7 separate regions of the Homo sapiens genome follow, and regions 1, 2, 4, 5, 6 and 7 are each linked to region 3. The links are contacts of gene promoters, found by promoter capture Hi-C in blood cells and fetal thymus (Javierre and others, 2016). All regions are on one chromosome and are shown on one strand. Each heading gives the region's core, a stretch centred on a gene start or on the middle of the fragment in contact. The rest is flanking DNA. Distances are from core to core; before and after follow the strand shown.

Region 1 (3,185 bases), core at 665-3,164, 360 kb after region 3:
CATTTTGCTGGGGATAAGGAAGAGGGCAGTATCATGGTTTCATTAAGTTTACCTTTTTTAAACAGAAAAATTAAAAATATCATAATTTTAATTAGAAAAACAAAAGATGTCTCTTGTAGACTTTCTTGGCCAAGCACTAGCAAGTCTAGGAAAAGAAAGATGCATATAATTAATGCTCTCTCTTAGATATAAGCAACCAACCAGTTAGGTGTTACTATGAAAGTAAAATGTACATAAAATTAATGTTTCCTATTTAAATTTGCAAGTCTACTTTTCAAAAATATCCTAATACTTGTTTTGCATGGCAGTGGAAGACCATAAAAATGATCATGGTAAGGTGAAACCATGCAAAGCTTTCTTAATAATCAATAGGAAAAATTACAATTGTTCTGTGGCCTTTAAAAATTTTTGGTAAACATTAAAAGCTTTTACTGTTGGTTATAAATGTATAGGAAAATGAAAAATAAAACTAATGTTTATAATTTAATATGCTGTATTTTTAACACATTAGAACATGGAGAATGAAAGTGTTTTATTTCTGTGTAAAATACTTATCAGGAATAGTCTGAACAGTGCTTGCTTTCTTCTTATTATCAATTAACTTGCAGTATGGACCAAGTACCTTTCCTATGCCTTATAAATTGTCATACCACTTTCTAACTCTGAATCAGCTTCCAATGTTTTATCCCTTGCCTTTTCAATGTCTTGGAATATCTCCAAGAATTGTGAAGTTTTTCCCCACTTTACATCCTCTAAGATGTTTTCATCCTTTTTGTCATAACCACTTTCCTCATTTTCTTGAGCAATGGCAGTGTCAACATTCCCACAGTCAGCCATTCCCTCTATAACTCCATTTATGCTTGATTCCAATTTTATTTTCAGTGTTATCACTTTTCATTTCTTTGCTACGCTTTTATCTTTGTTGGCCAATTCTCTTTTTGATTATCCATTTCTGTAAAATATCATAGCGTTTATCACTGGGAGACAATTAGGCAATACAGCTACATGCTTTGTTGTTTGTGCATAAGGAATAACCAATGTGCAGTGACCAATCATTGACAAACTATACAATAAGTGGTGTGATTGTCACAGATCATGATATGCATCTGTTATTTATGTACTGATTTGTGGACTGAAGAGCTACTTTATACTATACTCAGTTAATATACCGAAGTATCTTTGTATCTAATATTTAAGATAAACAGTGTTGTTACTGGACTGATAACATTTAACTAAAGTGTGGTAACTGAAATTTGTGTCACTGAAACACTGCAAAATAAGGACTTCCTGTATTAGCATATATACCTAATTATATACATCTTAAGAAAATATGTTACAAATATCACACATACACCAAGGAAAAGTAAAGAAAAGCTACCTACCAGTGTGGGATGATTGAGATTCATCATCACTATCATCATCTTTTCTTCCTTTCTTCTTGACTTTTTTAATTTTGTACTCTCTGGCATTGCCCCCACCTCCTCCTCTCATGCTTCCACTGCCCTCTGGTGGGAAAATGACATTAGTTAGCATTACCTAACTAAATCATCATTTTTATAAAATAATGACACTATATTGTTGTATTTAACTTTACAGCAGAAAAAATAAAGGCAAAATAAAGAAACTTTTAGACTCTTTTTAAATTTGGAGTTCCCTATTAAAAGTTTAGTAAATCCAATACATAAAAAATTAATAATAAAATATGAAATCTTTTGAGCAATCTACCTTAGATAGCCTGACTGCTCTAAATGCATTCTCTTTCTCCTTCTCTAACGTCACCTCTTTCCTGTAACTCTCAATATTTTCTTAACAAAAATCCATTCCTTCACCTCCTCTTCTACCTTCCCCAAAAGAAATGTGTCCTCCTTTGCTCATCTGTGTTACCACAGCCTCATCAATAACCTTCTATTATAAGACTTCACAAATTTAATTATTCTTATTTTGCCTTCTTTGTTGAAAGATTATTACCTGTTTTTAGAGGAGATATCCTGACTCATCTGCTACTCAAACAGATTATAAACTTCTGAAGAGCAAGGATCATTGTGTCATTAATGTATATATTCTTTACAGAAATGCGTGAAACATAACACGTGCTTCATAAATGTTGACCATGAATATTAATTGGTTAAGTATAAAAGTATTATTACCTATTGACTATAGACTTAAAAAAACAAATTATGAAACAAATGCAAACACTGTAAATAAAAATAAAAAATACTACTTCAGCATTTCCCTGCTCTTTGATATTGACATGTAAAATATCTACTCTACAAAATGGAATACTGATAACGGGTTTAAACCATTGAACATATTACAACTATATTATATTACTTCAAAATAAGTAAAAGATTAGTCTTTTTAATAAAATAAAGTGATTACTAAAGATCTTTTTCTAAATTCTAAATAGATTTGCCTTAGATTTCATCACATCCTAGATTTAAACTTCTATTATTTTTCCCTTTCTTTTATAATAAAAAAATTCTATTTTCAAAAATATAAGTCTAAAGTGAACATGCTTTTTATATTTGACAATAAGTTTCCTATGGGGGGGAACATTCATGATTGACATGATTCCACACACTGTAATTAAACAATTATAATACAATAGCATTATCACTGAAAATAAAACACCAAATGACCCTTAACTTTTAATAAGAAATAAAATATTAAATAGACTAGTTATACTGACATAAGTCATCAATTGAGTAAGGCAAATTTATAACTATATCTTCAAATATATGATAAAATATCCATAGCTATGAATATTACTGTGATTTAAGTAATTTATTAATTTTCCTGGAAGAATAGAGAAATTTCATAATGCCATTGAAAAGTTTTAAGAAAAAGATTCTGGAAGAGGAAATAAACTATCTCAAAGAATTAGAAGTGTATTTATTAATGAAAAATGTTGAATATTGAATTTCTTCAGTTCCGATAAAGCACTAACAGCACTGTTCCTACTATAAAAACTATGGAAATACATGTTACTTTTCCATTGCAAATTACAAGCATATCAGTGATACCTAGAATAATTTCTAGTGACTTTAGATTAGAAAAAGAAATGTAAAAATATGTCCTTCAGAAATTTTTTCATTTAATTAGTATGTTTATAGGACACCTAAAATATATCAAGTGGTGCTTTGGGTATGTAGCAAGAGTACAACAATAAATGAGATCAACACAGT
Region 2 (3,351 bases), core at 398-2,897, 510 kb after region 3:
ACTCTTCTCCTCCCTCTAAAAAACTCGCTGATACTGATTCATCACTGCGAGGTAACAAGTAGTACACAGATCTATCTTCTCACAAAGGATTTGTTATAATATGGAAGCAGAACAATTTGACATCATTATCCGAAAATCCACTGTGGAAGATGAATTCATGTGTCAAAACTGCTAAAATGGATAATGGGCATAATTGTTAATATACTAACTGTTGTGATTTTTTAGTGAGTAAATATGTAACCATTCACACATCTTTCTGTAATTTATAAGTAAAAATCTCTCCCTTTGTGACTCAGTATTGTGATCTTCCATGCTCACTATGAAAAACATAATAGAAATATGATATGATAAAATCAGAGTGCTATACTATAGTGACAAGAAAACAGGAGGTATGGATTTTAATGTGAGTTCAACCCCTAGCTAGCTCTTTTACTTTGGGCATTCCCTTAGTCTTGGTCTCAATGCCCTCTTCTGTAAAGTTGTGAGGTTTGAGTTATTCTCTGAGATACATTCTGCTGTTAAAATTCTATTATTGAATTTGAAAACCACTAAACCTTTCAGTGAGGGAAATTTGGAAAAAGAATGGTATATTTTTTTTAGCTGATAAAGTTTTTAAGTGAAAAAAGTGTTTAAACTTCTTTGTATTTGTTAATTGAGCTATTTTTTTATTTAGACATATGAGTTCAAAATTTATAGCTGTTTTTGACACTATAGTCAGTAGGTAAAAAGCAGTTTCTGGAGGCTGCCTATGCTTGAATCTAGTTTCATCATTTACTAGTTGTAAAACATGGGAAAGTTTTTAAAATGTCTTTGTGCTCAGTTTACTCCTCTGTCAATGGGGTATAATTACAGCACCCTTCTTGAAGAGATATTATGAGGAGTAAGCAAGATGATTTGCATAACTCCTTAGCAAATGATTAAAGCATTAACATATTCTTGACACACATGAGCTTTTACAATTACTCTGGTGTCACCAGCTATCCCAGGCTATTATCATTCCATACTTTATTACTGTAATTATAGCCACCTAGTTTAAAAGTCTCTTCCTTTCAAATCTATCCTATACATTTCTTCCAGCAAAGACTGCCCCAAACACAATTGTCTTCATTGCCTTCTGATAAAAACTGTTAACAACAGACTTCAGTTATTTCCATACCCAGGAGAACTGAGTATATATTGTCCTGGCATTTAAGACTCTCATTAATATTGGTTCAATTTGTCTTTCCAGCTTCATTCCATTACCTCCTCTTATATACACGCTCTAGCTGAATGGAACTATCCAAGTATCACTGAGAACTCGCACTCTGCTTTTCTGTGTTAAGCTCTTAAGGGAAGAGACAGTGATAAGTCTTTATACCCCAGTATAAAGTCCAGGACCTGGCACACAGTAAGCATTCAATATTTTTGAAGTGAACAGTCTTTGCTTGCACTGTTTTCCTCTCAGAAGTCCTCTCTTCTTATCTTTACCTACATAACACCTATCCTTCAAGGTCCCAGCTAAATATCATGAATTACCACCATTCATAGGCTACCTACTTCCTTCATAGTATTGTCATGTATTTACCTTCTAGAATTTACATTCCACTGTGATTATAATTATTTTTGTTATCTTATGCCCTCATTTTTGACTGGTGTTGAGAGCAGTGTACTATGTCTTAATCAATTTTATTTCCTACAATGCCTAGCATTTTTCTTTGACTATGTTAATTGCCAGTGACTAGTTATTGAATGAATCAATATGATTAATAGGATCCTATTTGTTAACCATTGTTTCTTGGCCATTAAAAAAACTTCAATAGAACAAAATCCTACTTCAATAGAACAAAATCTTCACCCCTTGCCAGGCTCCTTAGTCTCTCCAAGGTCCAGCCACATCCTCTCTGCCTAACATGACTTTGGGTAGCTACTGAAGCCCTACTAGCTTTTCATTATTCCATGGACATGCCATATACATTCTTAACCATGTTCCTTTGCTGATGTTTCCTTTGCTTGAGGGCAATACTGTCTTTGTTTCAGCTATCCAAGCCTGACTTAAGGTCTCATTCCATACTTTATTACTGTAATAATAGCCAACTAGTTTTAAAGTCTCTTCCTTTCAAATCTAACCTATACACTTCTTCCAGTGAAGACTGCCCCAAACACAATTGTCTTCATTTTCTTCTCCCAAATTCATCATGGAGCACTCCTCTAGACTTCCACAGTGCTTTTTCTCTTTCATCATAGGAAAGACAAATTTAGGTTCTTAGTTTAGTACTTAATCATACAATTTAATCATACACACACCCTAGAACAATGAAACAATAAAAGTAGGAGATAATTTAAAAGGGCTTTACTACAGAAATTCTAATAATGAAATTTGAAAGGGGCTAGTTCCATATTAACCCACTCTGTAATTCCTTTCCTCCTCCTCCCTGGGTTACCTCTTATATTAGCTGTGCAGACACCATTCTTGACAACCTGTTTCTAAGATATTTAAGGAACTTTGCATTCATCTGAACCTCTTCTAGCTAATAATACAATCTTACACATGGTGTTGATTATATTTTAATTCAATAAAAACATGGTTTAAATTTGTATCCTAAATTTTCATGTGTTTTTTGTTTTTATAACTCAATTAAATATCATGTCGTTGGGGGTAGAGGTCACATTTGGAACTTCCTGTGAATTTCCCATATTAGGAAGCATAATGCTGATCACACTGTAGATTTTCAATGCATGCATGAACAGCATTCATTGTTAGGTGAACCCTACTTGGCAAAATGTTCTCCTTAAATGCATTTTATAACATTTGACACGCTAACTTCATTCAATTTTTTTCTGGTCTATTGGTTCTAAGTTACTGTCATGTTTATAGTTTTTTCCTGGTCCGTTGACTTCTAATTTACTGTCATACTTACTAGACTACTCAGTAACTAAGGCAACTAAAGCTATATCTTTGGAGATTTACACAGATACAACCTAGGGTTAGGTAAACTGGTGTGATAGGATTTGCTTTCTATAGGGCATCAGTATTGTTTTTACCTTATGCCTGAAGATAAAAATGGGAAGTATGGTAAATATTTGGTGAACGGCCTACATAAAATACATTATACTACTTATTTATAAATACCATCTAATTTTATCTTCTTGATAACCCTGTATAGTTGATGATACTAAGCTGTTCTTGTAGACATGAAAACTAAAGCTATTAGGTTGATGGAAATGTGATCGTGGTTTTCCATATTACTTAAAAAAAGTGGCCAAAACCTGAATTACTTTTGCACCAGCCTAATAATAAAGAAGTAATTTACTCAAGGCTTTATCTATAAACTTGATCTCAGGCCCATCTGATTCCAAGGTCCTTAACAAATG
Region 3 (3,491 bases), core at 913-3,412:
CTTTATTTGATAATTGTTTAGTACCTACTGTGTACTAGCTGTTCAATGTGTTGAACAGTGAACAAAACAGACAAAGTTCTGTCCTCAGAATTTACATTCTAGTGTGTTGTCAAGACCCTGGGTTTATTAGTATCTTAAGATATTCAGCCATACACATGCATCATAATACTCCACTCAGATGGAAGCTTCATTCTAAGCAGCATCCTAGTTATACTTTCCTTGGGGATCTGACTTCAATCCTTAACATAAGCCCAACAGGAGTTCTTAAGTTCAGAGTTCCTGTTAATTTATATGTTTTGACAAGAAGAGCTGGAATTATGCATTTATGGTTCAGGTTTTATTTCCATGATTCCCAAAGGGTGACAGCCAATTGTGAGTTTCTGATGGAGTGCATCTGCCTTCTGTTTTGCAATTTGAGGGCCTGAGCAGCACTGGGCCAGGATCAGGCAAAGCAGCTGACACATGCTGGAAGCTCTTTCAATGTTGAATCCAAGCTCTATTGGAATGTGTGAATTCAAATAATTATTTCATATTGTAATCCCTACTGTCCTGACAGTCACTTCTAACATTACTTTTTCATACTGCCCGAAGTTCGGTGGAATTTCTATGAAAATGAGATTTTCACTTTTAAAATATTTTAACAGGCAGTGAGTCGAATTGCTACCATGATTAAAGCACATAGACATAATGAGGCAGATTAAAATTTCTTAGCACCCATAGAAATAGAAATACCGTGCCTAAAAAGCCCTGAATCACAAGCATGCTTAAAAGTATCAAAGATAGAAATCTTGGAGCAGCCTGCCACCTTCAGGATAACTTCCCAGTTAATGCTATCTGAGATCACTGATTTCAGCTTCTATAAATTCCAAATACCAATCCCTGTAAAAATGTTCAGTATAATTAAATAAAGGGCATTTAAATTAGAGTGGCTGAAGCCGTCTTCCTTGCAGTGCTTTTGCTCTGATTAAGCATTATACTTAATGATTACATTAGTTTTCTTTTTAAAAAACTTTCCCTTTCTTCATTTTGGTTCTTTGATTCTTGTTTTATTATTATTATTCTATTCGATTATCTTTACATCAATATTTTCTTACTTTAAGCTGGTTAAAAACATCCACTCTACTTCATTTTGCTAAGCAGAGATCAGAACACTAAAAATAGATTTTGCAGCCACAGTAAGAGAAATACTGTAACTTCCTTCCTACTGCTTCCTTCCTGGTGGGTTTTATTTTAGATTAATAACAATATTTCTAAAGGGTCTTAAATAAAAGCAGCACTACAGTAACCCATTCAGGAAATGGAGAGAGACGGAGAAGGTGAATGTAACACTCGTTTTTTTGTTTGTTTGTTTTTTTTTTCTGACGTCTTATTGTCTGTTCCTTTCATTAAATTACACAGAGGCTTAAAAAGAATGAAGAAGGCAAGAGAGAAGAGAAATAGGAGAGGGAATGACTCAGCATTTAGTAGCATGGAGAAGTAAATTAGTAGCAAAAATAAGATAAGGGAAAGTATAACTAAAATCGATACCATTAGGTCAAATGAGAACGGGATGTAAAAAATAATGGAAAAAGAATACAGTGGCTTGAAAATGCATCAGGCGGGGGGACAGGAAAATAAGAGGCATTTAAATGAGAGCGGCTGAGAACAAATACTCATCGAAAGGGAACATCCTTTCATTATTTTCCTTTCACAAAAGCAGGAAAGGGCAACTTGAGAGCCCAGTTTGACCCTGGTTCAGTAAGTTCCATTTTTATCGGCTAACTCTTTGGTGGCATTGCCCTGTGAAACAACTTCAAGGTCAACTTCCTTACGACTTTGATTTTCAGCTCTTCACTGAAACTTTGGAATCACGTGGAGTCTTATCCAATGCTGGGCCTCACTCCACAAGAATTAAATCAGAAAGTCTGGGGTAGGGCCCGGCACAGAACTTTACAGAGCTTCCCGGGTGACTCCCTCGGAGTTCCAGCGTTAAAAGCAACCGTGGGTCTGGGGACTTAAGCCCCGCCACCTCCCGCCGGAAGCGGCCCTCGTGGGAGCCGTCACTCGCCCCGAAGGGAGGGGCTCCCTTTTAAATGCCCTGGGCAGAGAAGCGGTGTGTGGCCTCCCGAGCGCTAGGGGGCGACGGGCACGCATTTAAGCGCCCGCGGCGGGGCTTCCCCTCACTTGTGCGCATGCTCCGGGTGTCCCGGAGTTGTCCTGCGCCGGTGTTCCCACGTGCGGCCTGAACCTGAGCGCATAATGTTATGAGGAGATGGGAGCACTAGTGATTCGCGGTATCAGGAATTTCAACCTAGAGAACCGAGCGGAACGGGAAATCAGCAAGATGAAGCCCTCTGTCGCTCCCAGACACCCCTCTACCAACAGCCTCCTGCGAGAGCAGATTAGTCGTGAGTGGTGCGAGGGCGTTTCGGGGCCCGGGGGCGCGGAGTCCCTGTGCTGCCCGGCTGTCCCTAGCGTGGGTCCGGAGGCCGAGGGATCGGCGTCAGCCTGCTCGGCCGCAGCCGCTCGGGTTGGCGGAGCGTTGGAAGGGGGAGCCGCCAGGCCGGTGACATTGAGACTGTCCTCCGCGCCCGCGGTGAGGTCGGCGGCCCCGCCTACTTCCGAGACCCAGAGGCAGCAGCCAGTGCTCCCGCTAACCAGGCCCTCGCCGGCTGCTGTCACGGACTTGATACAGGGAATCAAAATCCGAGAGGGTCACAGAGCTTTCTCTAGGGGTCTTCACTGGACGATGGACGCAGAGCCTGACCTGGAATTTTGATTTCCATCTAAAGTATTTTCCTAACAGTCCAAATGATTATGTTTATTTTTTAAAAAAATTAAAGTGGTTAGGCCGGGCGCGGTAGCTCAAGCCTGTAATCTCAGCACTTTGGGAGGCCGAGGCGGGCAGATCACCTGAGGTCAGGAGTTCGAGACCAGCCTGGCCAACATGGCTAAACCCCGTCTCTACAAACAATGCAAAAATTAGCCGGGCGTGGTGGCGCGCCTGTAGCCTCAGCTTGTCGGGAGGCTGAGGTGGGAGAATCTCTCGAACCCGGGAGGCGGAGGTTGCAGGGAGCCGAGATCGCGCGACTGCACTCCAGTCTGGGCAACAGAGCGAGACTCCGACTCAAAAAAGAAAATAAAAGAAAGCGTTTGTGTTAAGCGTTTAGGATATTACAGGAAATTTTCCTTGATTTTAATATTGTGACTTTTTTCCTTTCCTTAGTCTATCCAGAAGTTAAAGGAGAGATTGCTCGTAAAGATGAAAAGCTGCTGTCGTTTCTAAAAGATGTGTATGTTGATTCCAAAGATCCTGTGTCTTCCTTGCAGGTAAATGTGTGTTTAATTAAGTGAATACACAATTTACTTATTTTGGGGCTTCAGGAAAATGATTAAGTGTGGCAAGTAGTAAAAAGAGTGCTCTGCAAGTGTGTGTTGTGATCAATCTACACGCCTTGGCAAAGTTTAAGCACACTGGTGTAAGACAGCAAGACACTTATGCCTTGGTTCAC
Region 4 (3,504 bases), core at 901-3,400, 340 kb after region 3:
CAGAAATGAAGACTCAAAGCAAGAGATAAACGTGTGTATTTTTATGCTTAGATTTGATGAAGAGTGGATAGTCATGGAAAAGTATGACTGGACAAAGGGGATATAGTCTAATGATTATACACTCGGGGGAACTTAGCAAGGCCTGTTTGTTTAGACTCTTCTTTGTGTTCCTTTCTTCCAGGCATAGGGAGGTCTCTTGAATGAGGGTCTTATGACCTGCCTCGGGAGAGAAGGGTAAAGGGAAGGTGGGAATGATCTTCCTGCTTCTGGAGTTTTCTCAAACACCAAGGTGCCATATTTTAGCGTAGTGCATCCTGAACCCCATTATAAATCTGTATCCTTGTTTTCACTTAATATACTGTAATTTTCCAAGCCAATAAAATATTTTTTATTTTATTATTATACTTTAAGTTCTGGGGTACATGTGCACAACATACAGGTTTGTTACATATGTATACATGTGCCATGTTGGTTTGCTGCACCCATCAACTCATCATTTACATTAGATATTTCTCCTAATACTATCCCTCCCCCAGCCCCTCACCCTACAACAGGCCCCGGTGCGTGGTGTTCCCCTCCCTGTGTCCATGTGTTCTCATTGTTCAACTCCCATTTATCAGTAAGAACATGTGGTGTTTGGTTTTCTCTTCTTGTGTTACTTTGCTGAGAATGATGGTTTCCAGCTTCATCCATGTCCCTGCAAAGGACACAAACTCATCCTTTTTTATGGCTGCATAGTATTCCATGGTGTAGATGTGCCACATTTTCTTTATCCAGTCATTCACTGATGGACAAGCCAATAAAATATTTTTAAAGTGGCTATAACAAATAGTTGCTATGTAATAAAATACATAATGGAATAGCTCTCCTTTTTTTTCTCTCTTTTTTCAACACCAAAAGATACACTCAGCATTTAAAACATACAAATCACAGGACTGAGATTAAGACTGAAAAGAGGAAAGGAGAAAAATCTAGAACATTGACTTTAAGTACATTTACATTTATTAGGTTGTATTTAAACAACAATATGTTCTATGTGTCAAGTCTTCAAGTTCTTACCCAACTCTGAAGTCTGTATGATAGAATTAGGTTAAGGACTGCATTTTAGATGAGTAAAGACAGGCTCAGTAGTAAAACAGTTTGACAAAGCACTTTTACTTCTTTACATTGAGTAACACAAAACATGAGACAACCTTTGAGACTTTTGTCTTAGGTTGACTAGTCAGATCGCAGTTTTTCTTTGGCAGACTAGTATCTGAATAGACTATTTCAGAGCCAAGATTGGCCTGTTTCTGTGCAAGAGAAGGTGTCCATGTTCCTCTCTACTAGAGGCTGGGAAAAAAGACTCGTATACATTTTTTAGTCATTTTAATTCTCAGAAAAGGAAGACATTAATTTCACGAATAATATGTACATTTTAAAGAATTTTGGTAAATTGCCAAATTGCTTTCCAGAATGTAATTTTTTTAGAAGACAAATGTAATTACTTAATTTCCCTGGTTAGTTGAATCTTTTAAAGGCTTCCATGTTTTTGAGATAGTGGTTGAACTTTGTAGCTTAGTGTTTAAGGCATTTCAAAACCCCCCTATTCTCTCTACTTTATCTTACACTACTTCCCCAGATCAGTTATTATATTTCTCAGACTTCTTGGCTCCCCACATCTCATTATTTCATTCTAATTAGCGTCATAGTACTTCTGTACCTCCTTTTCTCTGCCTTAATATGCTCTCCTTCCCTTCTCTCATTTTCACCAAGGCTAATCCTTCTTTTTTTCTCTCTGGACTCTTGGTTCAGGTGTTATTTCCAGCCTCCCCATTGTGCAACACAGTCTAAATTTCATTTCTTGTCACAACACCCTCTGTGTACTTTTACCAAGACACTATATTTAACTGTAATTATTGACTTGTTATTTCTTTGAAAGTAAAACATACCTTTAAAGTTGATATGTGCCTTCCTAGTATTTAGCTGTCATACACGATCGAGTAAATTAGGCCAAGTCCATAAATTCACCATGTTCTCCCTTTCCTCCATTTCACCATCAATGTAATCCTGTCTTTCCTGCTCCTTAAAACAAACACCCAGATTGTCTTACTACTAATCACTTCAGAGAAATAGAGATGCAACTAGGGGCAAGTTTGATAAAACAAATAATACAACACTGGGAACTTATAAACATTGAATACATGTTTACAGTGGTTATTCCTTCTTTTTTATGATGTAAGTGTAATACAAATTGTTTTTCTGAAAGCCTGAAAGTCAGTTTCATTCTTAGAAGGTTTGAAAGAAGCCTCTCCTGGATCTATTTATTCTGTTGTACGCTTAGTAGGGTCCTCAAGATAGAGCAACTTGTGTGAATTTGCAGGTCATTTAAATAGCCACTTGAACAGTGCTCCCAGATTTGTGTGGAAAATGTACATCCCAGGGGAGTTTTGTGTGTGCATTTATTACATCTCCCATGTATTGGGGGAAATTCTTCATTGGTCTTAGTGAAAGAAAGTAAATCTTCCATCCTCTTACTCCCTCCCAACTCACATCAGTTACTTCTTGATAGAAAAAATCCCATTTGTTTCTGTGAAATGGTTTGGCTGTGCCTCCACCCAAATCTCATCTTGAATTGTAACTCCCATATTTCCCATGTGTCATGGGAGGAACCTGGTGGGAGGTGATTGAAATGTGGGGGCAGGTCTTTTCTGTGCTGTTCCTGTGATAGTGAATGAGTCTCAGGAGATCTGATGGTTTTAAAAAGGGGCGTTTCCCTGCACAAATTCTCTTGTCCACCGCCATGTGAGATGCGCTTTTCACCTTCTGCCATGATTGTGAGGCCTCCCGAGCCATGTGGAACTGTAAGTCCAATAAACCTCTTTCTTTTGTAAATTGCCCAGTCTTGAGTATGTCTTTATCAGCAGCATGAAAATGGTAAATTAGTACCAGTAGAGTTGGGTGCAGCTGAAAAGATACCTGAAAATGTGGAAGTGACTTTGGAACTGGGTAGCAGGCAGAGGTTGGAAGAGTTTGGAGGGCTCAGAAGAAGACAGGAAAATGTGGGCAAGTTTGAAACTTCCTAGAGACTTGAATAGCTTTGCCCAAAATGCTGAGAGCAATATGGACAATAAAGTCCAGGTTGAGGTGATCTCAGATGGAGATGAGGAACTTGTTGGGAACTGGAGCAAAGGTGACTCTCGTTATGTTTTAGCAAAGAAACTGGTGGCATCTCTCCCCTGCCCTAGAGATCTGTGGAACTTTGAACTTGAGAGAGATGATTTAGGGTATCTGGTGGAAGAAATTTCTAAGCAGCAAAGCATTCAAGGTGACTTGGGTGCTATTAAAGACATTCAGTTTTATAAGGGAAGCAGAGCATAAAGGTTTGGAAAATTTGCAGCCTGACAATGTGATAGAAAAGAAAAACCCATTTTCTGAGGAGAAATTCAAGCCAGCTGCAGAAACTTGCATAAGTAACAGGGAACCAAATGTTAAATCACCAAGACAATGGGGGAAAATGTCTCC
Region 5 (3,520 bases), core at 879-3,378, 320 kb after region 3:
AATTTAGTGTTAATCTTCATTCTAAACATCACTTAATATGTGAATTCTTAAGGCATGCCAATGCATCACACAGAGCAGAGACCTTTCTTGTCCTGTTTAGGGTTGTGTCCGTGGCACCTACAAGACAGCCTGGCACAAATACATGCTGAATGAATGCAGAAAGGAAGAAGTCAGATGTTTGGTTCTAGAATCCTGTCTGTCTTTTTCACTTTAAACAGCTCCCTGAATATATATGTTATCAAACAGCTCCCTGAATATATACACTTTAGTTCTGTAGGTTTCATAAAAAGCTCTTGAGGGCCAACTCTGGGCCATCCATGGTGCTTGGCAGTAAAGTAAAGGTCTTTACCTATGAAAAGCTTACGTGGTAGCCTGGGAGAGGGACATTCAAATATTCTCTTCACTCCGTCACTCTTCTGCAAGATAAGGACCTGGCTGCATGTTCGTGTGGTTCTTGGTACTTTACCACCCACAGTATGCTTTATCTCTGGCTAATTGTGTTTCCTGATCAACAGAAAAGACAGGGAAGATACTATGTTTGCCAGCAGACTCCTGGTGTCTAGTTTATTACCAGCATACGCTGAAGGCTCAGTAAATATTTGCAGATGGAAGAGAGTGAGAGAAGAATGAGAGAGGTCCTGTGGAAAAGTGTGAAGGTATGCACAGGCTACTCTGGGTATTTTAGGAAGTTTCTGGAAAACTTCAGGTAAAGCTTCTTTTAGAGCTGTGCCTTGAAGGTTGAATAAAAGGTAGTCTCGAAGACAAAGTAGGTGGAGGTTCCTAAGCTGAGGGCCGTCCACACAGTTGTGGAGGTAGTGACTTAGCATGAGCAGGGGAGTGGTCTGCAAGCTCACAAGCACCACTAGAACTGGAGGGTGGTATCCATACTTGGATAACAAAAAGGTCACATATAAAACTAGTTCTTTTTACATGTCAGAGCTTTAAAAACTTAACTACACATTGCTATGGATTTATTTGGCCCACTGTTTTCTTTTTGGCCAACTAAACACCATACTGAAAAGGTAGATCTATGACGTATTCTGTTAACTAAAAGTCTCTCTTGGTATTTCAACAATTTTCACTGACATCCTAAATTTAAAACAGATCAAGAATTTTTTTTTGAGTTAAAGATCGTAAGAGAGAACTTCTCATTCCCCCTGGTTTCTGTGCTTGCCCTTTAAAGGAGTTTCTCTCTTTTGAAAGTATTCACTCATTCTATGCCACTTGAGGAGTGACTTAACTGGTAAGTAACTGGGCAAAAGGCACTTCATGTGGAGCCACATTGTTTCCCTTACTCCATTGGAAGTTGCCAAAGCATGGGCCTGTGTTCCCTCTCTGCAGTGAGTTCACTCCAACTGCTCAGTCCCAGCTCATGAGGGAGCACTGTAAGATCCAGGCTCTCTACTCCTTCTGGGAAGAAGCTCAGTTCAGGCTGGGAAGGGAAGGGCTTGGTCTCTCATGCACGTTTTGTTTTCTACTCCCGCATTAACAATAATGAGGTTGATAATAAATTGATCCATACGTGATTTATGTATCTATTTCTCATTTGCTTTAGAATTCTGAAAGGAGATATACATGATTAAGTGGAACTTTCCAATCTAAACAAATGTTACAATAAAGCTAGTTTTATTCTTGGTCTGTTTGTTGTATGTATGTGTATGTGTATTGAGAGACGGGGAGAGGAGAGGAATGAGAGAGACATACATATATTAACTTTCGTTAACCGGATGTTAAATTAGGCAGCAGGACCTATTCTCTGATGATGCTAGTTATTATAGTTTAAATGAAAATAATCTCTTGGCTCAGCTAAAAAATCAAAAGCAATAAATATGCCAACTACCTTCACTGAAATAACCATTACTTGTTATTTTAAGTGTTTTCGAAAATTTAACTTGTCACCTATTTTCTCTTTAAAGTTTATTAGCTTTTTGGATTCTGGATATTATTTTCCCAGGTGGAATTCTGATAATAACATAAATTTATTTCTACTAATCAATCTTTTTCAGATCATTTGGTATCTAAGTGAAGAATATTATAAGTGAAGTACCAGTATATATTTTAATAAGAAATTATGGTTTATAAAGTGACTTTATATATATTATTTGGAATAGTGACTCTTAACCATTTTATATTTAATAACTATTTAGCATATAATAAAAGCTATTTACCTCTTCTTAAAAATATATATGAATGCATATGTTCACAGAAATTTCTCAAACCCTGGGAAGGCAGGGTTCTTGGAATCAGGCTCTACAGTAGAGATCTGCCACTATATGTAGCTCAAGGGCCAAATCTAGCCACTGCCTGTTTTTGTATGGTCTGAAACCTAAGCATCGCTTTTACATTTTTAAATGATAAATACCAAAAGAGGAATATTTTTGACATATGAAATTTAAATATTGGTGTTCATAAGTAAAGTTTTATTGGAACACAGCCACACTCATTCATTATCATACTATCTATGGCTTATTTCCAGGTACAACAGTAGAGCTGAGTAATTTTGAAGACTAAAGTATTATCTGGCTCTTTGTAGAAAACATTTTGCTGATCCCTAATCTCAAGTTTAAAAGTACATTTTCTGCTTTTAATTGTATTTTGCTGGGTGTTTGTTAAAGTATGCTTAAGTTTAATTAGGATTTGAAAAGAACTTTCTGTACACTACTTTAAAGAATATATATTTACTAAATGGTTTTAAAAATAATACTAGAAGTCATTAACATGGTATTCGGAAGAGTATTTAATGGCATGGTGAAATGCTTATAATTCTCTAAGTGGGAAAAAAAGTGTGAAATAGAATAATCAGTATGACCTCAATTATATAATTTTTTTTTTAAGTAGAAACAAGTTTAGAAGAAAATATGCTGAAATGTTAAGGCTCTTAATTGAAGTTAAGGAGTATTTAAAATTTTACTTTTCAGTACCTTTCAAATTGTATACTGTAATCTATCACTTTGGTAATAAGGAAACATAAGAAAAATATTGAAAAAAATGGGAGTATAATTGTTTAATTTAAAAAACAATTATAGGTCAAAAATTAGAATATTTTGGGCCAGACGCGGTGGTTCATGCCTGTAATCCCAACACTCTGGGAGGCTGATGTGGGCGGATCATGAGGTCAGGAGATCGAGACCAACTTGGCTAACATGGTGAAACCCCGTCTCTACTAAAAATACAAAAAGTTAGCTGGGCGTGTTGGCGGGCACCTGTAGTCCCAGCTACTAGGGAGGCTGAGGCAGGAGAATGGCGTGAACCCGGGAGGTGGAGCTTGCAGTGAGCCGAGATTGCGCCACTGCACTCCAGCCTGGGCCTCCGTCTCAAAAAAAAAAAAAAAAAAAAAAAATTAGAATATTTTGTGATAGTGTGACTATCAAAATGTTCAAGGGAACAAATGAATAGACTGAATGTAATTACAAGACTAGAAATCATTTTTATAAATGAAATCTTAATTTAGATAGCATGACAGCTTGGTGTCGGATTTTTTTCAAATGCAAATTATACCCATGAATCTAAGGAAGTGTTG
Region 6 (3,502 bases), core at 4-2,503, 400 kb after region 3:
TGACATAGAACAGATTTTTAAAAAAATATTTTGCAAGTATTAATAGTTGCTCTGAGCCTGAAGCTTGATCTGATTTACTTTGTTTGCAATTACTGGAAGTCAGGAGCAATTGCAAGATATTCACAGCTATAAGTTCCATTCTATTATTTTAAAATTTTTCTTCTTTTTTTAATAGATTCTTCCTCTTTTATTATGTCTTGGTTTCTTTTGTAGGTCTTCTATTTTTATTCTAAAGATAGCTACTTTATACTGTCTGGTCAATATTCGTGTTATTGGAGGTCAGAGGATATAATCGTATTGTTTACTGTGGGTTTTTAAAAAAGGAACTCTAAATGCACATATTAGTTCTATCCCTTAATTTTTTATGGCCTTAAGCAATTTGCTTGCATTTTTTAAGGCTTAATTTTCTCATCTCTCTGAAATGGAAACTGTGTTAAATATAATTTTCATAGTTAACTGTGTGACATAGTTTTTTTTAACCTGTTGTTTTAATATAAATGGTAAAGAATCTTGGATTAATTTTTTTCTACCAGAAAATGAATTAAAATTAAAATATAAATATCTTACAGGATATGAAACTTGGTATTTTGGAGCTCTCTGTAATCACAGTTATTCATTACAGCATTATCTTGACAGATAGTACACCCATCTCTACTGATAAAGAAACATGGAGATTTCTGTTTCCAGCAACATAAAAAACTAGATCACCTACTGTGAGATGTGCTATATATAATTCAACAAATTCTTTAAATTCACAAGGGAATTCCCTATTGTCTGAAAATTTTTAAAAAGAAGGAATTTGGTATGGTAAGCCAATACCAGACTTGTGACTGCATGACAGTATTTTATGATGCCAAGAGACTTGTGTTTTCATGATTCAGTAATACCTTGTGCCTACCTAAGGTGGTTTATATAGTCATTTCCTTCAAAGGGATTTTTTTTATAGAGTCTTGCTCTGTCACCAGGTTGGAGTGCAGTGGCATGATCTTGGCTCACTGCAACCTCTGACTCCCTGGTTCAAGTGATTCTCCTGCCTCAGCCTCCCAAGTAGCTGGGATTACAGGCATGCACTACCATGCCCAGCTAATTTTTGTATTTTTAGTAGAAACAGGGTTTCACCGTGTTGGCCAGGATGGTCTCAATCTCCTGACCTTGTGATCTGCCCGCCTTGGCTTCCCAAAGTGCTGGGATTACAGGCGTGTCCCACTGTGCCCGGCCCAAAGGGATATTTTCACAGTGAAAAGACAAACCAGGAAAAAAAGAAGTCTACCCACCAGCAAAGACACATGACAAAGTTATTTGTTTGTTCTTGGCCCTGACTCTAGGTAGGACAAATATAATGTATTTCTTAAGAGTTCCTAGATATAGCCCTGGCTTATATGGAATTGTTATTTGTATTTTTATACTCATAAATCTAAAAATTAATTTAATGTGATCATGAGTATTTGGCAGAAGAGAATAAAATTACTCTTTAGAAATATCTACATTTAACTCAGACTCCCTCAATATTTCCATACATTTAGATTAACTGAACTCTAAATTCCAAACTATAAAACTGATGAAACAAGATATCATGAGTGAGAAGTAGCATGAAAAACAAATAGTAGAGTTAGAAATGCTGCATGGCATTATTGTTTGCTTTACTTTGTGTTGTTTTTTAAAGACAAAATAGACTGAAGCATGATTATAGGTCAAGAGGAACACATATTTGATAAGGAAGAGCCTGGGGAATAATTGATGGGAATCTTGGAGTAGACCAGAAGAGAGAGGATCAGGAGTAGAGACTGGAGGGAGACGACCCATTCATTCCTGGAGGAAGGGAAGCTGAAATTGAAATGTTAAATTAAAAATGGACAGGAATGATCTCCGTTCCAAGATGACCGAATAAGAACAGCTCCGGTGTGCAGCTCCCAGTGTGATCGACACAGAAGACAGGTGATGTCTGCATTTCCAATGGAAGCACCTGGTTCATCTCACTGGGACTGGTTGGACAGTGGGTGCAGCCCATGGAGGGTGAGCCAAAGCAGGTTGGGGTGTCACCTCACCTGGGAGGTGCAAGGGGTCGGGGGATTCCCCTTTCATAGCCAAGGGAAGTGGTGACAGACTGTTCCTGGAAAAACTGGACACTCCCGCCCAAATACTGCACTTTTCCCATGATCTTAGCAACTGGCAGACCAGGAGATGCCCTCCTGTGCCTGGCTTGGTGGGTACCGCCCCCATGGAACCTTGCTCACTGTCAGTGCAGCAGTCTGAGATCGACCTGCAAGGCAGCAGCCTGCTGGCGGGAGGGGAGTCTGCAATTGCTGAGGCTTGACTAGGTAAACAAAGCTGCCAGGAAGTTCAAACTGGGTGGAGCCCACCACAGCTCAGTAATGCCTACTGCCTCTGTAGACTCCACATCTGTGGGCAGGGCATAGCTGAACAAAAGGCAGCAGAAGCTTCTGCAGACTTCAACGTCCCTGTCTGACAGTTCTGAAGAGAGCAGTGGTTCTCCCAGCAGGGCATTTGAGCTCTGAGAATGGACAGAGTGCCTCCTCAAGTGGGTCCCTGACCCCCGTGTAGCCTAACTGGGAGACATCTCCCAGTAGGGGCCAACAGATACCTCATGCAGACAGGTGCCCCTCTGGGAAGAAGCTTCCAGAGGAAGGATCAGGCAGAAATATTTGCTGTTCTGTAATATTTGCTGTTCTGCACCCTCTGCTGGTGATACCCAGGCAAACAGGGTCTGGAGTGGAGCTCCAGCAAACTCCAGCAGGGACAAGCAGTTCCCTGCAGCTGAGGGACCTGACTGTTAGAAGGAAAACTAACAAACAGAAAGTAATAGCATCAACATCAATAAAAAGGACATCCACACCAAAACCCCATCTGTAGGTCACCAACATCGAAGACCAAAGGTAGATAAAACCACAAAGATGGGGAGAAAGCAGAGCAGAAAAACTGAAAATTCCAAAAACAGAGCACATCTTCTCCTCCAAAGGATCACAGCTCCTCACCAGCAATGGAACAAAGCTGGACAGAGAATGACTTTGACAAGTTGACAGAAGTAGGCTTCAGAAGGTTGGTAATAACAAATTTCTCCAAGCTAAAGGAGCATGTTCTAACCCATTGCAAGGAAGCTAAAAACCTTGAAAAAAGGTTAGGTGAATGGCTAACTAGAATAAACAGTGTAGAGAAGACCTTAAATGACCTGATGGAGCTGAAAACCATGGCACAAGAACTTCGTGACACATGCACAAACTTCAATAGCTGATTCGATCAAGTGGAAGAAAGGATATCAGTGACTGAAAATCAAATTAATGACATAAAGCAAGATGACAAGATTGGAGAAAAAAGAGTAAAAGGAAACAAACAAATCCTCCAAGAAATATGGGGCCATGTGAAAAGACCAAATCTATGTTTGATTGTTGTACCTGAAAGTGACGGGGAGAAAGGAACCAAGTTGGAAAACACTTTTGAGGATATTATCCAGGAGAACTTCTCCAACTAGCAAGGCAGACCAACA
Region 7 (3,682 bases), core at 473-2,972, 510 kb before region 3:
TACTAAAAAACTTTACTTTAAAACAATAATTGAATAAAATTTGTAAAACATTTTAAACACAATTTTCATTGTTATGCAGAACATTTAATATCTGGAACTGGGGCAAAGCAAGGTTTATCTTTCACGATTGTTTTTAAATTGATGTTTAAATTGTTTTTAAATTCATGTTTTAAATTCATGTTTTTAAATTGTTTCATGATGTTTAAATTATTTTTAAATTCAACAATTTAAAAACAACCCTACAGATTCAGAATGTGGAGTCATTCACGATTTAACAAAAGCAGGGACCTGATCTCTCTTGGACAGGCAAGAGCAAGCTATTTGAATAGCACGTAAGCCTGGGTCTCCATCACACTCAGCGTCCTATTTTGTTGCTTTCAGCCTATAATTTCAAGCACAGTAATGCTCTTGAGGGATTGATTTCTTCTTTTCTTTTTTTTCTTAGCTTTGGTTTTTGTATAAAATCAGAAAAGTTTATCAGAAAAGGTTAACTGCTAGCAAATATAATAAAATGAAAATAAAAATTCTTAAGTGATTGTTGTCTAAAAATACAAGCATAGAATAAATTAAAGTGTAGAATGTAGAAGTCCACAACTCAATCACTTGAGCACTGGCAAATCCACCAAAAGTGAATGTTCTAATAGTGAAAAATTAATTCACCTATCAATGGACAGAACTTCAGTGAAAGTTGAAAGCATGGTTAACCTGCGTGTATGACTATTTGCAGGAATTATGACCCTCAGAAAAATGTGAAGTGCCAAAGAAAGCCTGCACTTGCCCAGTGGTGAAGAGTTGTCAAAGACTCTATTACCATGGACAAAGTTTTGTAAAAGGATTTTAAGAAGTTTTTTTTTCTTTGTGCATGATATCAAGGCAATGAGGGAAAGCAGATTAGCTGCTGAGCAAAGTATTTTCTTCAGAGTTGAAGAGATACTAAAGGAAAAGGACAATAAGTGCTCAGCGAGACCCAAGCCAGCTTATACTGAAGAATACACCTCTGGGAACCAATGCATCTCAAAAGGAACTGTGAACATTAGAGTGGTGGAGAAAGATGGTCCTTCTGCACTGTGGCCATGCTGCAGGCCTGGTGATTAAGTCAGGCTTTTGCTATCCTTTAAACCCCAGGACATTGAAGGGCAAACAGAAGGACCTCTCACACATGAACTGGCAGTTCAATAAAAAGTGTTGGGTCACAGCACAACACTTTTTCAGAATGATTTCTTAAGGGCTGTGAGCCAAAAGTGGAACAATATCTCCCTTTACTGAACATCAATTAAAGATTGTGCTCATGAAAGATATTGCAGAGGGCCAGATACGGTATCTGAGTTTGCACATTTAAGTTGAGGTTGTGCTGCTTATTTCCATAGTAGACAGTATTGGTAAGCTTTAATAAATTATTTAATTCCTTTATTTGTAGAATCACTAAGGTTTTATTTAACTTTTTAGAATTCTCTATTAGAATGTATATGGAGTAATAGATATATAATATGTAATACATATTTAAAATATTTGCCTAATGTAACAGATATATCCCTTATATATGAAAATATTCCATGTTACCTTGGAAAAGTACTATCTTACTGTGTACTAGTCTAAATAATGCTAACCTCATATACAAGGCCATTTGTTGTTTTTTTATAACTAAATATTTCCAAAAATCTGTTTAAGTTCTTCTAAGTAAATATCTCCTTACAACATTATTTCAACCACTAATTTGCTTAAACAAGTTCTCTCTTTAGAAAATATGGAGGAAAACAGTATCCTTTTCTTAAACTGAAATATCCAAAATATTTGGAAGTTTGGAAGTTTTCCAGCCTGGCCAACATGGTGAAACCTCGTCTCAACCAAAAAAAGAAAAAAAAACAAACAAAAATTAGCCATGCATGCTGTTGCATGCCTGTAGGCCTGCAACCTCAGGGGCCTGAGGTGGGAGGGCCACCTGAGCCCTGGGAGGTCAAGGCTGAAGTGAGCCATGATCGCATCACTGCACTCCAGCCTGGGCAGCAGAGTGAGACCCTGTTTCAAAATAATAATAATAATAAACTTTTAATAAAGCTTTTTACTGAAGATGTTATAATATTACAGTTAATCCTTGAACAACACAGGTTTGAACAATACAGGCCCACTTACATGCTGGTGTTTTTCAATAAATATACTGAAAGAATTTTGGGAGATTTGCAACAATTTGAAAAAGCTCACAGATGAACCAGGTAGCCCATATATATTTAAAAATTTAAGAAAAAATTAGGAATGTCATAAATATATAAAATATATGTAGATACCAGTCCATTTTATCATTCACCACTTAAAGTATATACCAATCTATTATAAACATTTTAAAACTATCAAAACTTATGCACACAAACATTACAGACCATACATGGTGCCATCTGCAGTCCAGAGACATATAATAAAATACAAAAATGCAGTATTAAATCATAACTACATAAAATTAACTGTAGTACATATTGTACTACTGTAATAATTTCATAGCCAACCCCTGTTGCTATTGCAATGTGCTCAAGTGTTGCTAGTATTAGCTTAAAACGCCATGTGATGCTGATCATCTCTTAGTGAATTGATCCTCTCTCCAATAAAATGAATTTAGCAGTAAAAGGTGATTTCTCATGGTCTTTGTGTATTTTTCATCATGTTTGTTGCAATACTGTAAACCTTGAGTAATACCATGGAACCTATGCAAAGTACCACAAGTGATGCTGAAAGTTTTCCCAAGAAGCAGGGGAAAGTCATGACATTACAAGAAAAAGTGAAATTGCTTGACAAGTACCACATATTGAAGTCTGCAGCTGCAGTTGCCTGCCATTTCAAGAAAAATGAATCCAGCATGTAAAAAAAAGAAAAGGAAATTCATACATTTGTCACTGCATCTACTCCAGCAGGTGCAATAACCCTGCACTTTGTGCAAAATACTTTTTAATCTCATATCAAAAATGCAGCTTTTATGGGGTGCAGGATTGCTATAAGAAAGGCATACCTTTTATGTCTTTCTAATGTGATTCAAGAAAAAGTGAACTCATTATATGAGAATTTATAGCAAAAAGAAGATAAAGGGCCTAAAGCTGGAGAATTTAATGCCAGCAAAGGATGGTTTGATAATTTTAGAAAAAGGTTTGGCTTTAAGAAATGTCAGTGTGGCGATTCCTCAGGGATCTAGAACTAGAAATACCATTTGACACAGCAATCCCATTACTGGGTATATACCCAAAGGATTATAAATCATGCTGCTATAAAGACACATGCACACGTATGTTTATTGTGGCACTATTCACAATAGCAAAGACTTGGAACCAACCCAAATGTCCAACAATGATAGACTGGATTAAGAAAATGTGGCACATATACACCATGGAATACTATGCAGCCATAAAAAATGATGAGCTCATGTCCTTTGTAGGGACATGGATGAAGCTGGAAACCATCATTCTCAGCAAACTATCACAAGGACAAAAAACCAAACACTGCATGTTCTCACTCATAGGTGGGAATTGAACAATGAGAACACATGGACACAGGAAGGGGAACATCACACACCGGGGCCTGTTGTGGGGTGGGGGGAGTGGGGAGGGATAGCATTAGGAGATATACCTAATGTTAAATGATGAGTTAATGGGTGCAGCACACCAACATGGCACATGTGTATATATGTAACAAACCTGAACGT

Evidence for each region. Contacts are between HindIII fragments. The CHiCAGO score rates a contact against its expected background, and 5 or more counts as called.
Region 1: a contact is called between a fragment that was not itself captured here and the fragment with the promoter of NDUFAF4 in region 3, in 15 of 17 cell types (naive CD4 T cells, megakaryocytes, naive CD8 T cells and 12 more). The highest score is 14.1, in naive CD4 T cells.
Region 2: a contact is called between a fragment that was not itself captured here and the fragment with the promoter of NDUFAF4 in region 3, in 1 of 17 cell types (naive CD8 T cells). The highest score is 5.4, in naive CD8 T cells.
Region 4: a contact is called between a fragment that was not itself captured here and the fragment with the promoter of NDUFAF4 in region 3, in 14 of 17 cell types (naive CD4 T cells, naive CD8 T cells, activated CD4 T cells and 11 more). The highest score is 12.9, in naive CD4 T cells.
Region 5: a contact is called between a fragment that was not itself captured here and the fragment with the promoter of NDUFAF4 in region 3, in 1 of 17 cell types (naive B cells). The highest score is 5.8, in naive B cells.
Region 6: a fragment that was not itself captured here is called in contact with the fragment with the promoter of NDUFAF4 in region 3 in 7 of 17 cell types (total CD8 T cells, naive CD8 T cells, total B cells and 4 more); the score reaches 8.2 in total CD8 T cells.
Region 7: a contact is called between a fragment that was not itself captured here and the fragment with the promoter of NDUFAF4 in region 3, in 1 of 17 cell types (endothelial precursors). The highest score is 6.3, in endothelial precursors.

What each region holds. Positions count from the first base shown.
Region 1 is chr6:96,541,214-96,544,398 of GRCh38, reverse strand. UFL1 (UFM1 specific ligase 1) reads right to left here. Exons shown (of 19, transcript NM_015323.5): 12 at 1,383-1,505. Among named protein-coding and RNA genes, the nearest start is that of FHL5, 20 kb to the left of the region's middle. The HindIII fragment of the contact is 2,973 bases long and covers 428-3,185 here.
Region 2 is chr6:96,387,512-96,390,862 of GRCh38, reverse strand. The region is part of intron 1 of UFL1-AS1 (UFL1 antisense RNA 1); the gene reads left to right. Among named protein-coding and RNA genes, the nearest start is that of UFL1-AS1, 130 kb to the left of the region's middle. The HindIII fragment of the contact is 4,389 bases long and covers 1-3,351 here.
Region 3 is chr6:96,896,562-96,900,052 of GRCh38, reverse strand. NDUFAF4 (NADH:ubiquinone oxidoreductase complex assembly factor 4) reads left to right here and starts at 2,162. Exons shown (of 3, transcript NM_014165.4): 1 at 2,162-2,387; 2 at 3,206-3,309. The coding sequence starts at 2,252. It also overlaps a transcript of KLHL32 not described here. RefSeq lists an enhancer at 2,240-2,339. The HindIII fragment of the contact is 8,617 bases long and covers 188-3,491 here.
Region 4 is chr6:96,557,182-96,560,685 of GRCh38, reverse strand. No RefSeq gene overlaps it. Among named protein-coding and RNA genes, the nearest start is that of FHL5, 4.2 kb to the left of the region's middle. The HindIII fragment of the contact is 6,486 bases long and covers 1-3,504 here.
Region 5 is chr6:96,573,348-96,576,867 of GRCh38, reverse strand. The region is part of intron 1 of FHL5 (four and a half LIM domains 5); the gene reads right to left. Among named protein-coding and RNA genes, the nearest start is that of FHL5, 12 kb to the right of the region's middle. The HindIII fragment of the contact is 2,828 bases long and covers 715-3,520 here.
Region 6 is chr6:96,498,808-96,502,309 of GRCh38, reverse strand. All of the region lies in intron 1 of UFL1-AS1 (UFL1 antisense RNA 1), which reads left to right. Among named protein-coding and RNA genes, the nearest start is that of UFL1-AS1, 21 kb to the left of the region's middle. The HindIII fragment of the contact is 2,375 bases long and covers 66-2,440 here.
Region 7 is chr6:97,402,209-97,405,890 of GRCh38, reverse strand. All of the region lies in intron 1 of LOC101927314 (a long non-coding RNA gene), which reads right to left. Among named protein-coding and RNA genes, the nearest start is that of MMS22L, 120 kb to the right of the region's middle. The HindIII fragment of the contact is 671 bases long and covers 1,387-2,057 here.